Linked DNA regions of Homo sapiens: all the other regions are linked to region 5. Evidence: promoter capture Hi-C in 16 types of primary human blood cells and fetal thymus (Javierre and others, 2016). All regions are on one chromosome and are shown on one strand. Each heading gives the region's core, a stretch centred on a gene start or on the middle of the fragment in contact. The rest is flanking DNA. Distances are from core to core; before and after follow the strand shown.

What was found. Contacts are between HindIII fragments. The CHiCAGO score rates a contact against its expected background, and 5 or more counts as called.
Region 1: the fragment with the promoter of PPP1R1B here is called in contact with the fragment with the promoter of ARL5C in region 5 in 2 of 17 cell types (neutrophils and endothelial precursors); the score reaches 5.2 in neutrophils.
Region 2: a contact is called between the fragment with the promoter of RPL23 here and the fragment with the promoter of ARL5C in region 5, in 4 of 17 cell types (naive CD4 T cells, total CD4 T cells, activated CD4 T cells and 1 more). The highest score is 7.5, in naive CD4 T cells.
Region 3: a contact is called between a fragment that was not itself captured here and the fragment with the promoter of ARL5C in region 5, in 6 of 17 cell types (naive CD4 T cells, activated CD4 T cells, non-activated CD4 T cells and 3 more). The highest score is 8.0, in naive CD4 T cells.
Region 4: a contact is called between a fragment that was not itself captured here and the fragment with the promoter of ARL5C in region 5, in 7 of 17 cell types (fetal thymus, activated CD4 T cells, total CD8 T cells and 4 more). The highest score is 9.1, in fetal thymus.

What each region holds. Positions count from the first base shown.
Region 1 is chr17:39,625,504-39,628,203 of GRCh38, reverse strand. PPP1R1B (protein phosphatase 1 regulatory inhibitor subunit 1B) reads right to left here and starts at 1,252. Exons shown (of 7, transcript NM_032192.4): 1 at 731-1,252. The coding sequence starts at 811. The HindIII fragment of the contact is 16,288 bases long and covers 1-2,700 here.
Region 2 is chr17:38,852,350-38,855,060 of GRCh38, reverse strand. It overlaps RPL23 (ribosomal protein L23), which reads left to right and starts at 1,340. Exons shown (of 5, transcript NM_000978.4): 1 at 1,340-1,363; 2 at 1,956-2,039; 3 at 2,329-2,457. The coding sequence starts at 1,351. SNORA21 (small nucleolar RNA, H/ACA box 21) reads left to right here and starts at 2,066; the gene lies at 2,066-2,198. RefSeq lists enhancers at 1,087-1,196, 920-1,703, 1,194-2,393, 1,704-2,487. The HindIII fragment of the contact is 31,460 bases long and covers 1-2,711 here.
Region 3 is chr17:38,890,288-38,892,987 of GRCh38, reverse strand. It overlaps LASP1 (LIM and SH3 protein 1), which reads right to left. Exons shown (of 7, transcript NM_006148.4): 3 at 2,484-2,568. Among named protein-coding and RNA genes, the nearest start is that of LASP1, 22 kb to the right of the region's middle. RefSeq lists an enhancer at 1-88. The HindIII fragment of the contact is 3,399 bases long and covers 1-2,700 here.
Region 4 is chr17:38,873,308-38,876,007 of GRCh38, reverse strand. The region is part of intron 1 of LASP1 (LIM and SH3 protein 1); the gene reads right to left. Among named protein-coding and RNA genes, the nearest start is that of LASP1, 4.6 kb to the right of the region's middle. The HindIII fragment of the contact is 1,603 bases long and covers 488-2,090 here.
Region 5 is chr17:39,164,776-39,167,475 of GRCh38, reverse strand. ARL5C (ARF like GTPase 5C) reads left to right here and starts at 1,315. Exons shown (of 6, transcript NM_001143968.1): 1 at 1,315-1,761; 2 at 2,337-2,397. The coding sequence starts at 1,716. RefSeq lists enhancers at 885-1,686, 1,687-2,488. The HindIII fragment of the contact is 4,701 bases long and covers 1-2,700 here.

The DNA of each region.
Region 1 (2,700 bases), core at 3-2,502, 460 kb before region 5:
TCAGCTCAGCAACAAGTGACCCCTGCTCCACTAGGGATGGGAAGTGGAGCTCTCTGTCACAGCACCCGCCAGCCTTTGGAAGCCCCTCAACCCCCAAGAAGGCCCTCAGGAGGACTCAGTAGTCTGTGGGAAGAGGTCTGGCTTTGTGATGACTCCCCACCTCTCCCTCCTTGGGGTTGGGGCTCTGGGGCCTGACAGCAGGAGGCCAGAGCCAGGTTCTGGAGACCCCAGCCCAGGCACACACGCGGGATTAGAGAGGGGCAGGGTAGTGGATTCACCCGGTGGCAGCCTCATACTCCTGCCCTGGGTGACAAGGTCAGTGTCCACCGCTGCTCACATCTGACCAGCTCTGGGACAGAGCCAGGCGGAGCGGTCCCGGTGGTAGCCTAGGAGACTGACTACCCTTTGGGGACTGTGCTGGGACCAAAGGACGCCCCCACCCCACTCCTGGGCGGTCTGGAATCGGCCTGTCCCCCCACCCCCGCACCCCCAGCCTCACTGCCAGGAACTCTCTTGCCCCGGGATCAGGACCAAAGCCGCGGGGAAAAGTTGCACGAGTCTCCAGCTAACTTCACACGCGGCCCCGCGCCCCGTCCTGACCGAGGCAGAGCCCGGCTCTCCTTGCGCCCCCACCCCCAGGCCAGTCCGGCCGGGGCAGCGCCTTGGGAGGGCGAAGAAGCCCCGCGGGGTGTGTCGGGTACGCTGCCGGGGTGGGGCACGGGCCCCTTACCATCTCCACCTGGCGGGGGTCGAGCTGGCTAGGGGGCGCGGGCACCGAGAACTGGATCTTCTTGCGGTCCTTGGGGTCCATGGCGCGCGGGGTGGGCGGTGGGGCTGGGGTGCGCGACTCGGGGTCCCGGCGGCGGTCTGTGCTGGGCTCCCCCGCGCAGGCGGCGGGCTGTGCGGCGAGAGGAGGAGGAGGGCTGTTCGCGCACGGATAAAAATACCGTGCCCGCCGAGGGGAGGGCGCGGGAGCGGGAGGAGGGTCGGCGCCCGGGCTGGGCGCGCCCCCAGGCTCTCGGGACTCGGGGCTCGCCCCCCGCGCTCGCTGAGCCAGGTCTGTGCCTCGCTCCCTCGCGCTCCCCGGCCTGGGTGTCTCTGCGTCTCGGTGTCTCTCCCCTCCTGAGTGTCTCTGCGTCTCGGTGTCTCTCCCCTCCTGAGTGTCTCTGCGTGTCTCCTCTCTCTGCCTCTCCCGTCCTTCTCCACCTCCCTCCCTCAGCCTCTCCTCCTCTCCGCGTGTGTCTCTGCCTCTGCCGGGCTCACCCTCCGGTCCCAGCTTTGGGGTCCCCAGCCCGTCCCCTCCGCCTGGGACTGGCGCCCGGGTGCTCGGAGGGAGGGTTTAGGGGAAACTGGCCAATGAGCATGGAGAATCGTGTTCTCCTGGGGCTGGGAGGAGGGTGGGAGTTAGAGCCAAGGCCTGGGGAGCCAGCTGGGGGGCCCCCTGCGGTCTCCCCAGAACTTGAAGCTGCATTATTGATGGAGTCCAGCAGAGAGGATAAAGGGGGAGGGAGGGGGAGAGGGGCAGCGGGGAGGCAGGACTCTGGCTTTAACCCCTTCGTGGTCCTGGTACTGGGAGTTTCAGAGAGGCCTGCGAGGTCGTGGGGAGAGTACCAGCCTGTCACGCTGTGAATGGGGGTGTCCTGGAAAGGGAGCGAGTGTGACCGAGTTGTGTGTGGGAGGACACGTGTCAGTCATCGTGGCAGGGAGAGTGTGCAGGGGTGTGCCGGGGCCCTGTGGTGCCCATAGCCAGGGAGTGTGTTTTGGGGGGTCCGGTGTGGTGTGAGTGTGTCTGTGTAAGTGTGTCAGAGTGTCAAAGATGCAGGTGTGAGTGGCAGGGTGTGGGAGGACTGCGTGTGTGCGGGGGAGGGTGTGGGTGTGGGGGAGGATGTCAGAGGCTGTCAAGGTGATGGGCAGGCGTGTGCCAGCTTGCAGGGGGTGGGGGACTGTATCCACAGCTCCGCTGTGCAGTTGCTGGGGTATGAGGTTGTGGATGTGTGAGCGCTCCTGTGAGGGAGAAGGGGAATGTGCCCTGCCATGATGTACTGTAGATTCACGTGGCTCCTGTCTTTCCTCTCCGGATCTAATGGGGTGGGGAGGACAGGGCCGGCCCAGAGTTGGGGTGGGTTTGGGGGCTGCCTGTACACGTGCCATCACGTGCATGAATTTGGTGCATTCAGAAGCAGGGTTGGGGGAGACAGGTGTGAGCCTCTCTCTCTCCAGAGGTATTTGTGTGTGTCTCTGGAGCGGGAGCGGGAGGAGCTGGCCCTGTGGGTGGAATGTCCCTGTCTATTTGGTCTATTTGTCCGGGCCTTGGGTGCCTTTGCAGGAGCTGCTGTTTCCCTCCTTGGAGCTGTGCAGAGGGTCTGAATGCTTCTGTCTAGCACTGAGAGGGTGTGTGTAGACGTGTACATGCATGTTTTCCTGGGGCTCTGTTTGTGTTGGCGTCCTCTCTCCTGGTCACTCTCAGGCCTGAAACCCCCAATCCTCCTGCAGCTTTTCCACTCCCAGCCCCAGCATCTGGGTCCTGGGTGGAGTGAAAGGCCAGAGGAATCTTCTGGAATTGGGGTCAGGGCCCACTCTGGGGGTGAGGGAAAGGGTGGCAGGAGGTCCAGAGTGTTGCTCATAGGAGTGGGATGTCCTGGCCATCCAGCTCCACATCAGCCCACCCCAGGCCTGGCTCAAGTCCCTGTATGTTTGTTG
Region 2 (2,711 bases), core at 91-2,590, 310 kb after region 5:
AGCTGGGATTACAGGCGCCCGCCACCACGCCCAGCTAATTTTTGTATTTTTAGTAGAGACGGAGTTTCCCTGTGTTGGCCAGGCTAGTCTCGATCTCCTGACCTCGTGATCCACCCGCCTCGGCCTCCCAAAGTGCTGGGATTACAAGCGTGAGCCACAAGGCCCGGCCACTATTTATATTTTACACTTGATCTTGGCCAAAAGGCCGAGAAGCGATACTATTTATATTTTTATAATACATATCCCCATCTAACATACTACATACTGCAATTACTTATTATATCTTTTGTTTAGTGTCTAATATCCTCCTCCACCTGCACCCCAGCAGAATGTAAGCTCCATAAGGAAAAGAATGTTGATCTATTTTGTTCTCTGATGTAATCCGCTGTACGCCCTGGACAGAACCTGCTGTAAAGTAGGAGCTCAATAAGTATGTGAATTAATGTATCGTGGGAAGGAAAGAACCCAGAGAATAAGGGGCGGCTGAAGCTGTGAAAGGAGCAATTAGGCCTGGCGCGGGGGCTCACGCCTGTAATCCCAGCACTTTGAGGGACCAAGGCGGGCAGATCACTTGAGATCAGAAGTTCGAGACCAGCCTGGCCAATAACATGGCGAAACCCCGTCTCTACTAAAAATACAAAAATTAGCCCAGCGTTGTGGCGGGCGCCTGTGGTCTCAGGTACTCTGAGGCTGAGACAGAGAATTGCTTGAACCCGGAAGACGGAGGTTGCAGTGAGCTGAGATCTCGCCACTATACTCCAGCCTGGGCGACAGAGTGAGACTCGGTCTCAAAAAAAGAAAAAAAGAGTGTGTGTTGGGGGGGACGGGTCAATAAATAGAGCAATACTGTATATGTAAAATACAGAATGGTATGATACCAAGAACACATAGATGGAATGATCTGCAGCACTTCTCAACTGTATTACATTCAACGAAACCGTTTAGAGCTTGTTCTCCCTCCCTCCCCCACTTTCTTTGTTCCTTGGGGAACCCCCACACGGCACAAACCGTGTTTTAATTCCTATTCTCTAGTGTGCAGATAAGTGCCTGGCACTATTAAGTGGTCAAAAGAGGTCGTGAGCAAGTTAACAAATCACTGTTTCCATGTCCCTAACTACTCTTAAGCTCGTAGAGAAGATACTTCCTATCTCTTGCGCTTCTACCTCAACTCCCACTTCGCAGAGAGGGCTAAAAGCGACGTCGTAAACTTATTACGTAATAAGGCAGCGCCCAGAGGCGGAAGAGGCCGGTTTTTGCTCCGGCCACGTGAGGAGGGTGGGCGGGGCGTTAAAGTTCATATCCCAGTGTCCTTTGAATCGACTTCCTTTTTTCTTTTTTCCGGCGTTCAAGATGTCGAAGCGAGGTGAGGTTTTGTTTCTGGAGGATCCTCCACCATCTGTCGTGCAGTGGCTGGCGGATTCGTCAGGAGCGGTGGCCCTAGGCAGCTGGGGCGCTTTGCTCTCCTTCAGGCCGGAGAGAGAGAGCCAGGCCACCGCGAGAGCACTGCCAGGGCCCTCGAAAGTGGCAGTGGGGTGCTGGAGAGTTGAGATGGCAGGATCCCGACGTGAATGTAGTCTGGATACCGCGAGATCGCTCCGCGAATAGGGCTATCGTAATGGGGTTGAAGTTAGACTGGATTAGGCCCTGGTTTGCGCGACCTCTGCGGTTTTATGCCTTGCAGGAGTAATTGCGTTTTGCGAAAGTTAGAGCAAGGGTTGAGTCGTCTAGGTTTCTTAATTTCGATGTCAGAGTGTTAATAGTAAGAAATAGGCTACTTTCCGTGAGAATCGGGTGGCACATGGGGACGGCATAAGTAAAATCCGAGCGAGCTAATCTATAGCGTACAGTCTATCAAAGCATGTGCGGTGAATTACAGCTTGAGTATGAGGGGGAACTCCGAACCATGTCTAGATTGTGATCTCTTTATCCTGTTTCCCTTCCCTTTATATCCACAGGACGTGGTGGGTCCTCTGGTGCGAAATTCCGGATTTCCTTGGGTCTTCCGGTAGGAGCTGTAATCAATTGTGCTGACAACACAGGTGAGGTCTTTGCACGTTGCTATACTCCCCCTTTTAAAAGCACTCAATGGGCCTGTGGCTAATGACCTATTGAGCCGTCAAGAAAGGGGAGAGTGAAAACATCGCTTTTGGGTGAAGTGGCAACATGTGTTGTTTGCTTCAATCGGTGGTGTGACAAGGCGTTCTTGCGGACTAACTGCTTGGGCAGTGAGTGGAGGGAGGGGCTTTGGAAGTGTTTGGGAAATGTTATACTGATGGAACGGCCTGATGGCCCTCAACATTTTTTATTTTTATTTACATTCTTTTGTAGGAGCCAAAAACCTGTATATCATCTCCGTGAAGGGGATCAAGGGACGGCTGAACAGACTTCCCGCTGCTGGTGTGGGTGACATGGTGATGGCCACAGTCAAGAAAGGCAAACCAGAGCTCAGAAAAAAGGGTGAGTAAACACTGAGCCCACCTTAATACTGATGAGTAGTGGGGGGACGCTTTCCTTTATTGGAAAATGGATCAGTTTTCAAGGCCTCAAGTTTGTTTTCCATTGAGAGGCAGTGTGAGATAAGTATCTTAAGTTTTTGCTCATATTGTGTTGGAGGGGGGACCATCATCTTGTCACTTCCATACCTTAGTTGTTTTTTTGTTGTTGTTTTTGTTTTGTTTTGTTTTGTTTTTTGAGATGGAGTCTCTCTCTGT
Region 3 (2,700 bases), core at 22-2,521, 270 kb after region 5:
CATGCGTGCACACGCACACACACACACATACACACACGGACACGCTCTGGCCCTCAGTGAGGCCCTAATGAAGAGTGACCGCCATTTTCATCTCCCAAGAGGCCCCCCCGGGAACCCAGCAGGCTATGACCCTGGGAAGCAGGGGGCACAGGCCAGGGACAGGAGCCCCCAAACCCAGAGCGTGGTGCTGGCTTCCCCTGTGGGGGGCAGAAGCAGCCCCTGCCAACAGCATGCCCTGCCCACTTGCTGCCCATCCTGGGCAGGGGGAACAACGTGGAGGTGCTTCCTCCTCAAACCCCACCCCTCGGGGATAGGGTGCCGGGGCAAAAAGAGCTGCAGCCACGCTTTTGTGGAACTGACAAAGGCTGAGGGGTTTGAATTTCTCCCCTGAGAAGGGTGTGTGTGTGTGTGTGTGTGTGTGTGTGTGTGTGTGTGTCTCCAAAGACCTGCTATCTGCTCCCAGCACCTCTTCTCCGAGGTCCTTCTGAGCCCCTCCACCTCTGGCCCCCATGGCCCTTCCACAGGGCAGGGAATTGAAGGCAGGAGTCAGGGCCTGGCTAGAATCTGTAAAATATGGCCAGGCAGGCTGTGGTGTTCCCTGCTTCCTAGTAACTTCAGCTTCTGTGCCGCAGGTGGGTGGGTGGCAGGTGTGAGCTGCTGCTCTCTTCCTCTGTGAGCCTCAGGCCCTACCAGGGCTGTGCAGCATCAAGGGCCCCAGACTTGGGAGTGACAAGACCAGGGCCCAAATCCTGGATCCGCATTCACTCACTCGGTTCCCCTATCTGTAAGACAGAGACGCTGGGTCTTTTACCTTCTCCCAGAACCCAGTCAAGGATAAACAGGGGAACTAACTAAAGGCACTTGCTGAACTACACAATTTCTTGCTTTTCCTTTTTTTAGAGACAGGGTCTCACCCCATCACCCAGGCTGGAGTGTAGTGGTGCGATCATGGCTCACTGCAGCCTCCAACTCCTCAGCTCAAGTGATACTCCCGCCTCAAACTCCCAAGTAGCTACGACCACAGGTGCACACCACCATCTCTGCTCGTTTTTTTTTTTAGGGACCAGGTATTGCTATGTTGCCCCAGCTGGTCTCGAACTCCTGGGCTCAAGTGATCCTCTTACCTTGGCCTCCCAGAGCACAGGGATTACAGGCGTGAGCCATGGCTCCCAGCCCTAAACTACAAAACTTCTCAACAGCATAAGGAACTATCATGTTTATTATTAAGGTAGAGACTGTTTCTTGGGGAGTGGATAGTCCCTGGGTTAGACAAACCTACATTCAAAGCTGCCAGTGTCTATTTCCTCTTCTCTGAAGTGAAGTGATGCTACAGCTGCACAGGGCTGGGTGAGGATTAAACGAGCTCACACGCCGGGAGCACTGAGCCCTCCATCGTCAGCTGTGAATATTATTATTGCCTCTCCTACCCGCAGGACCTCAGCTAGTCCCTCAAAGTCGCTGGGCCTCAGTCGCCTCATCTGTAACAATGGGGAAGATAGCACCTTCCTCACAGGGCTGCTGGGAGGATGCTGAGAGAGGGTGCATGGAAAGCCTGACAAAAGGCAGGGTCGGTTCTCCCTGATGGACCCGGGCAGTCACATCAAGATCAGGCAGCAGGAGTCCCCTCTGGAGGAACTGGGAGAGATCCCCTCTGTGGCCCGGGTGGAACCTCTGCAGTCTTCTCCCGATCCTGAGTGGGTCCTGGGCGCGCTGCCCACGTGGTAAATTCCCCTACATGTATTCTCGCGCCTAATCCTTCATCGGCTGAAGCCCCGCCCCACCCCACCCCACCTCATCACTGGCCAGGTTTGTCCCAGGAGCCCTCGCACCCCCAGGCAGGGTGGGTCAGCTGTTCTGTTCTCAGGACTCCAGACCCTTTGCTTATTCCTCCGTGTCCCCTAAAGACCAAGTTCTCCCTAGGCCTGGAACCCGTCCTCCCCTCCTACAGGGGCACATACCTCCCACTCAGCAGTGTTCTGGAAAGTCAAGCCAAAGGAGACAGAGGCGGAACAGCCCCCTATCCTGTGCCCCCATGGCAGGGCCCCCTTCACACCTTGCCCTTCAGTGGGTGGAGGTTTGGGACGCGGCTATAGAGGGTTGGTTGCCCAGCCTCAGACTGGCATGACCTGGAGGGGCAAATTCCCTGGTCCTCCCCAAACCCCTCCTTTGTGGGTGAGTGTGAATGGGGAAGAGGGAGGGGAGAGTGGCTTCCTGGAGGAGGTAGGCTTTAGGGAGCCCCAGAGCGGGCTCAAATAGACACCCACACCTCTCCAACCCCCTCTAGGTAGGAAGTGGGAGAACGCTCTACCCTGCTCCTTTGATAAAGTCAGGGGTGGGGTCAAGATTAAAGGCAATGCTAGGATTTCAGCACCTTGGCCTTGCAGAGTAACCGCAGGGGAAGGTACTCTTGCCAAATGCCGACCTTACAACTTCCCTCCCCAGCATCCCTCCCTGCCAGGCCCCAGCACCGCCCAGCCCCTCACCTGACTCTGGAGCTCACTCTGTTGCTTGAGGCGAAGGTTTTCCGGGGTGTCCGCCACCATGGTGAAGGACTGCTTGGGGTAGTGTCTGCAGGACAGAAAAAACAGAGTGGGGGTGACTCTGGGGGAGGGGCAGGAGCCTCTGGGCTTCTCACAGAGCATGCCCTCCTGGGAACTTCGTCCTATGCTTGGGCACGCCCTGGCCCGGCCCCACAGGAGG
Region 4 (2,700 bases), core at 40-2,539, 290 kb after region 5:
AGAATAATCCAGGCCACCTGAGTGACCTGGCTGGCCTGTCCCTGCCCCATTTCCCAGTAGTCAAGGGAGACATTCCCCATTCCAAAAGAAGGAGGCCAGGAGGCAGGCCCAGGGGGACTTTTGAAGGAGCCCAGCCACAGAGCTGGTTCTTGGCCATTTGTCAAGGAATTCCCCCAAGGCGATGCTTTTCAAAATGTTGTCTCCAAACCCCCGGAGGGAGAGGTGCTTCTGAGACACTGGGAGGAGGGGATAGCAGAAAGAAGGCTGAGAATCTGGGATTCAACCTCCCTACCATGGCCCACTTCAACCAGAGACCCCCAGGGTAATTTCAGGGGGAAATCACCTTCTAATAGGGTACTGGTTCCCTATCAAGAAGACCCAAAGGAAAAACCTAATGGTGGAATATTAAACAGAATGCTAGGAGAACCACTCTTGGGGAGGACGGCCAGCCGGAAGTCTGGAAGCAAAGAAGTGGCGGGTCTAAGCTTGGCCCCCTCCCCAACCTGGGCCTATCCCAGTGACCCAGGGCCCCCAAACTCCTATGAGGCAACTTAAAGACTCCTTCTGGTGCATAACCCAATAGACAGAACCCACCGGGACACTAAGACAGACTGGTCCCTGCCCCCACAGGCCCCTGAAGTGGTGCATACCCCAACACACAGAACCCACCAGGGACACTAAGACAGGCTGGTCCCTGCCCCCACAGGCCCCTGAAGTGACAGCCCCACTCCCTCCCCGAGTAACTGGGAGGCATTGGCAGGGTGCCCCAGCCTGGTCACCACCCAGTCTGCTGGCCTCTGCCTACTTAGCTGCACAGGCCCCTGCCTAGGCCCCTGCCTGGGCCCCTGCCTCCCCCTACCCCCACAGGGGCCTGCCAGGAAAAACATTCTCCAGAATCCAGACCATGACCCACTTTCTCACACACACACACACACACACACACACACACACGAAGGGCTACACACTGTCCTAGGACCACGGACCTCCAAGGCTGCCTCCTGATTGACGTTGGGGAGACAAAGGGAGAGAGACCCCTACTCCAGATGGCCAGGCCTGCACCCGGAGCCAAGCCCCTTGGAGAAGGAGGGTGGGGTGTACTGAGCAGGCAGGGGGCACAGGGCCAACACTGGACCCAGTGGTTCCAAAGACCCCTCCAGGCTGCCACGCGGAGGAAGCAGAGCCCCTCTTCTAGGGGATGGCACCTATTTCTATCAGTAGCTCCTTCCCACCTCCCTCACAGGCCCCACACTCTCATCCAGACACCCAAGGGTGGGGCAGAGGAGGGTGGTCGCCTGTCCCCCTGCAGGGGGCTCTGAGCAGAAACATGGAAACCAGTTACTATGAAGCACAAGTGTCAAGTGGAGCTGCAGCCACTGTCTCCCAGAGTGCTGGAAGGTCAGGAGAGGAGGCCGTTCCACCCCTAATGCTTGGCACCTCCAGCAGCTTCAGGCGACTCCCCTACCCTCTCTGGAGGAAGGCCCCAAGGTTCAAGAAAACCCACCAGCTCCTTCCACTGTGTCCTTTTTGGGGTAGGAAAATTGTGGGGAGGGGAGGCAGAAAATGGCCAGTCCCTCCACAACCGCTGTGAGCCAAGCCTGGACCCTAAGATGAAAGAACTCCTGCCTTGTCTCAATGGGGTCTGGGGAAGGACACTGTCAGGGAAATATGTCCAGAGGACCCCACAGTGACCCCGTCTGCCTCTGCCCTGCCCCATGGGCTCTGTCCCAGAGCAAGAGCCCCCCTCTTTTAAAGGCCCCAGGCAAGATGATTTCAGCGAAGCATTCCTGGGCCTCAGGACTCAAGGAAACTGCACCTCGAGGCATGCACCTCTGCCCCTTCCTGCTGCCTGCAAAGTCCATGGCTTCCCTGTTCACAGAAACCAGACAGACCCTACCTCTGCTGCCTGTTAGAGGCCTCTCAGCCTGGATCCGAGGCTCCAAGGCAGGGTCATCTTGATCTTCCCTTGCCTACCTGCAACCCACTCTAAAGAAAGGTAAACAGGCTGGTAGGGGCAGAAGCCTGCAAGGATACCCCTCACTTGGGACAGCCTGTCCCTCTGTGGCTCTGGGTTGGGGGGGATGTGGCAAGCTTCGTGTCACTGTGCCTGCAGCCTGGCACCTTGGCCTCTGAACCCAGGCTACCTGGGGTGGCCATGACTCAGGGATGGATTATGAGACCATCTCTTCCCTTCCTGTTGCCCAGGGTTACAGTTTCTCCCTCCTGCAGAGGCAATGCCAGCCCCACCCTGGCCGGGGCACCAGCCTAGCTTGGTTGGCCACCTGACCCGCTGGCTTAAAGGCATAGATCTTTGCTGCACCTCCACAAATTCCGAGGAGGACAGGATTATTCCCAGTGGCCCCACGCCCCCATACAAGACCCCAGGCCCAGAGCATTCCTCCAGATAGGGTCAGGAAGGGATGGGACCTACTTTTGGCACAAATGAGATGTAAATAAAATATAAATATGTATAAATAAAAGTACTTTCTGCAAACACACTGGCAGAAGAGCTGAGCAGAAAGAACTGTGGATGTGAATTTCAGCTCTAAGAGAGGGAGATGAGCCACATGGGCTACCTGAGCCTCCATTTATGGAGTGCATCGTTTACAAGAGCGAATACACCTACTTTGTGAGGCTGCTGTGAAGACTGAGCCCAGCATATCGTGATAACTAGTAGCTATTATGAAGGGATGGTCACAAGAT
Region 5 (2,700 bases), core at 66-2,565:
TTCCCAGCCTTCCTCAATCCTCTTAAACTTGTGTTCACATTCCTTTTTTAATACTCCAAGTGCCATTTCTCAGGCTGTAGCTTAACTCATTCTACATCAGTCTGACAGCAACACATTCCTCCTGTGTGCAGGGTTCTGGACCAGGCAGGGAGTGATTGGGCTGGCGGGGGAGGTCATATGCTGGTTAACAATATATGAATCCCACCCTGGTACTCACAGTTGATGGGAGGAAACAGACTTGCCCGTCTATAAGCCCAGTGTAGGGAGAAGCCCCATGTGGCTGGAGAACCAAGTCAGGGCTGGGGAAGCAGGTGGCTTTTATGGCAGGGCAGCTAATGGGTCTCAGGCATTCTCCTTTCTGAGAAGGTGAAAGGCACTCAAGGAGGAAATGCAGAAGCAAAGGCACCATCAGAAAGAGCCAGGCATGTATAGGCAGGAACCAGTAGATACAGAGCCTGGGAGATAAACCTGTGAAGGCAGGTGGGGGCTGTTCGTGGAAGCTCTTGAATGTCAAGTGGAGACTGATCTGAATCCAGTGAGCAATAGGGAGCCATTGAAGATCTATGAGCTGGGGGAGTTACAGACCCTGAGCTGTGCTTTAGGAAGGTTAATAGGGGCCATGGAGAGGATGCCTTGGGAAAGGAGAGGAAGATGCAGGGAGACCAGTTAGAAAGTTGTTACCTTAATGGAGGGTTGTTACCTTAGTGGAGGCTGCAGGAAGGCAGTACAGTCGGGTGGAAGGAGCTGGCTCCCTGGTGTGTTGGCTGGATCTCCTGCTAACCATTCCTGCAGCCTGAGGGCACGTTGCCTTTTGGACTTCTCCTTTTGTTATCTGATTTTTTGTTTTTTTCCCCCCAGCTTAAGCAAAGAAAGAAATTCACAAGCAACAGCAGGAAACTCCACCTTCCATTCCCTCCTCAGGCCTGGCCTCCTGGTTCTCTGTTGGCCCATGTACTCCTCTGCCAGGTATCTGGGGCCTCTCTGCAGGGTCTCCAGCCGGAGGATCTCTCTTCATGCTCCATCCTTGTCTTCAGGCGCCCACTTTTGGGGATCAGGAAGCTGTGCCTGGGCAGTAGGTTTGTCCGTGAATTGTAGGAGTACTGATTTATCCTAGAAGTTGCCAAGCATCAAGGGGAGACCCTGCCCTTCCCCAGGGGAATGCAATTTGAGTGGGCCCACAAGACCCACGCTAGTGAACCAACTGCACATCTGTGGAGGGTTGGAATATTCTCCCAGCTCAGAGAGGATCGGTGAGCCCTGTCTGTACTACACAGCTGGTAGGTACAGAAAGTGGGTCGCCTGGGGTTTTGCTTCAGTCTAGTGCCCTAGACATGGCACTCAGAGGAGGGAGAGCTGGGATCCGGTTCCGCGCGCAGTGCTGAGTCTCCCCTGATTTGCGGTAGTGGAGCAGTCCACCCGGAGAACTCAGGAGTTTTCGCAGGGCGAGGGGGAGGGCTGGAGCCTGGAACCCCCATATTCCTTGCACCTCTTGGGCCCGGGACAGGCAGCCCTTAGTCACTGGGGTGTCCATAGTGCCCACGAAGGGCCAGCGTCCCAGAGGGTTCCCAGGTCAGGTTGGTGACGTGTGGGGCTTCCCTAACTTCGTAGGCAAAATCTGCCAGACCCTCCCGGGGGAGCGGAGCTCCGAATACCAGGGCCGACTCCGCTCCTGAGGCCGCTGAGCCCTCCTGCACCTGTCCGGCCCGGGAAGTGCCATGGGACAGCTGATCGCCAAGTTAATGAGCATCTTCGGGAACCAGGGTAAGGGGCGCACAGGGCATCCAAGCGAGCGCTTTGATCTCGCCCTCTTCTGGGACTCCTCTGATCTGTGGTCGGACGCACGGGGGGACCTCGGGCTCCGAGGGTCGTATATGGGCGCTCCTCGACTGCCCCGCGGCCTCCCCTGCCCCCGTCCCTGCCTGCTCCTCTTGGGTCCCGGCGCTTCGGTGCGCCCCAGGACGCAAAGCTGGGCGACCCTCCTTTCTCCCCGCTAAACGGAGCCAGCGGCGGGGATGGGGGGCTGCTGCGAGTTTCCTGCGATTGTGACTTCGCGTTATGCTCTTTCTCTAAACACCGTCTCTTGGCAAGCCCCGAAGCGCCCCGGGCCTTTCAGACACTTTTCTGGAATGTGAAGGGAGGTGGGGGCTCAGCTGTCTTTTCCACCGTCCCGGAGTGGGGCAGGTGTCGGAGCTGGGTGGGAAGCAGACGCGGTACGGTGGGCAGAGGTCCCCAGCCTGCGGGGAGCGCTATCTCCTTCCTGGGAGGTCTGGTGGGGGCACACAGTCCCTTGGTCTTCGGGTTTGGCCCTGACGCTGCCCTTCCTCCGACGCTTCCAGAGCACACGGTCATCATCGTGGGACTGGACAATGAAGGAAAGACCACCATTCTCTACCGGTTGTAAGTGACTCTCGGGCGGGGAGGGTAGAGAGCTGGGCCTCCCACCAGACTGACAGGCAGGGGGACCAATCACTGGAGCTCTTCCCTGGGTTCCCGGGCTCCTCTGTAGTCCGGAGGAGCGATTGGGCACGCTGCTTGGACCTTCCTAGTACTGCGGCTCCTCGGTCTGGCATTCAAATCCTGCACCGTACAGGCAACCCTAGCTCCCACTGCTTTCCTCCATCTTCCCGGGGGCCCTGCCAAACCCAGCTCCAGGCCTGCCAAGTGTCCCAAACTGCCTCCCTGCTCTTCGCTCCCTCTAGC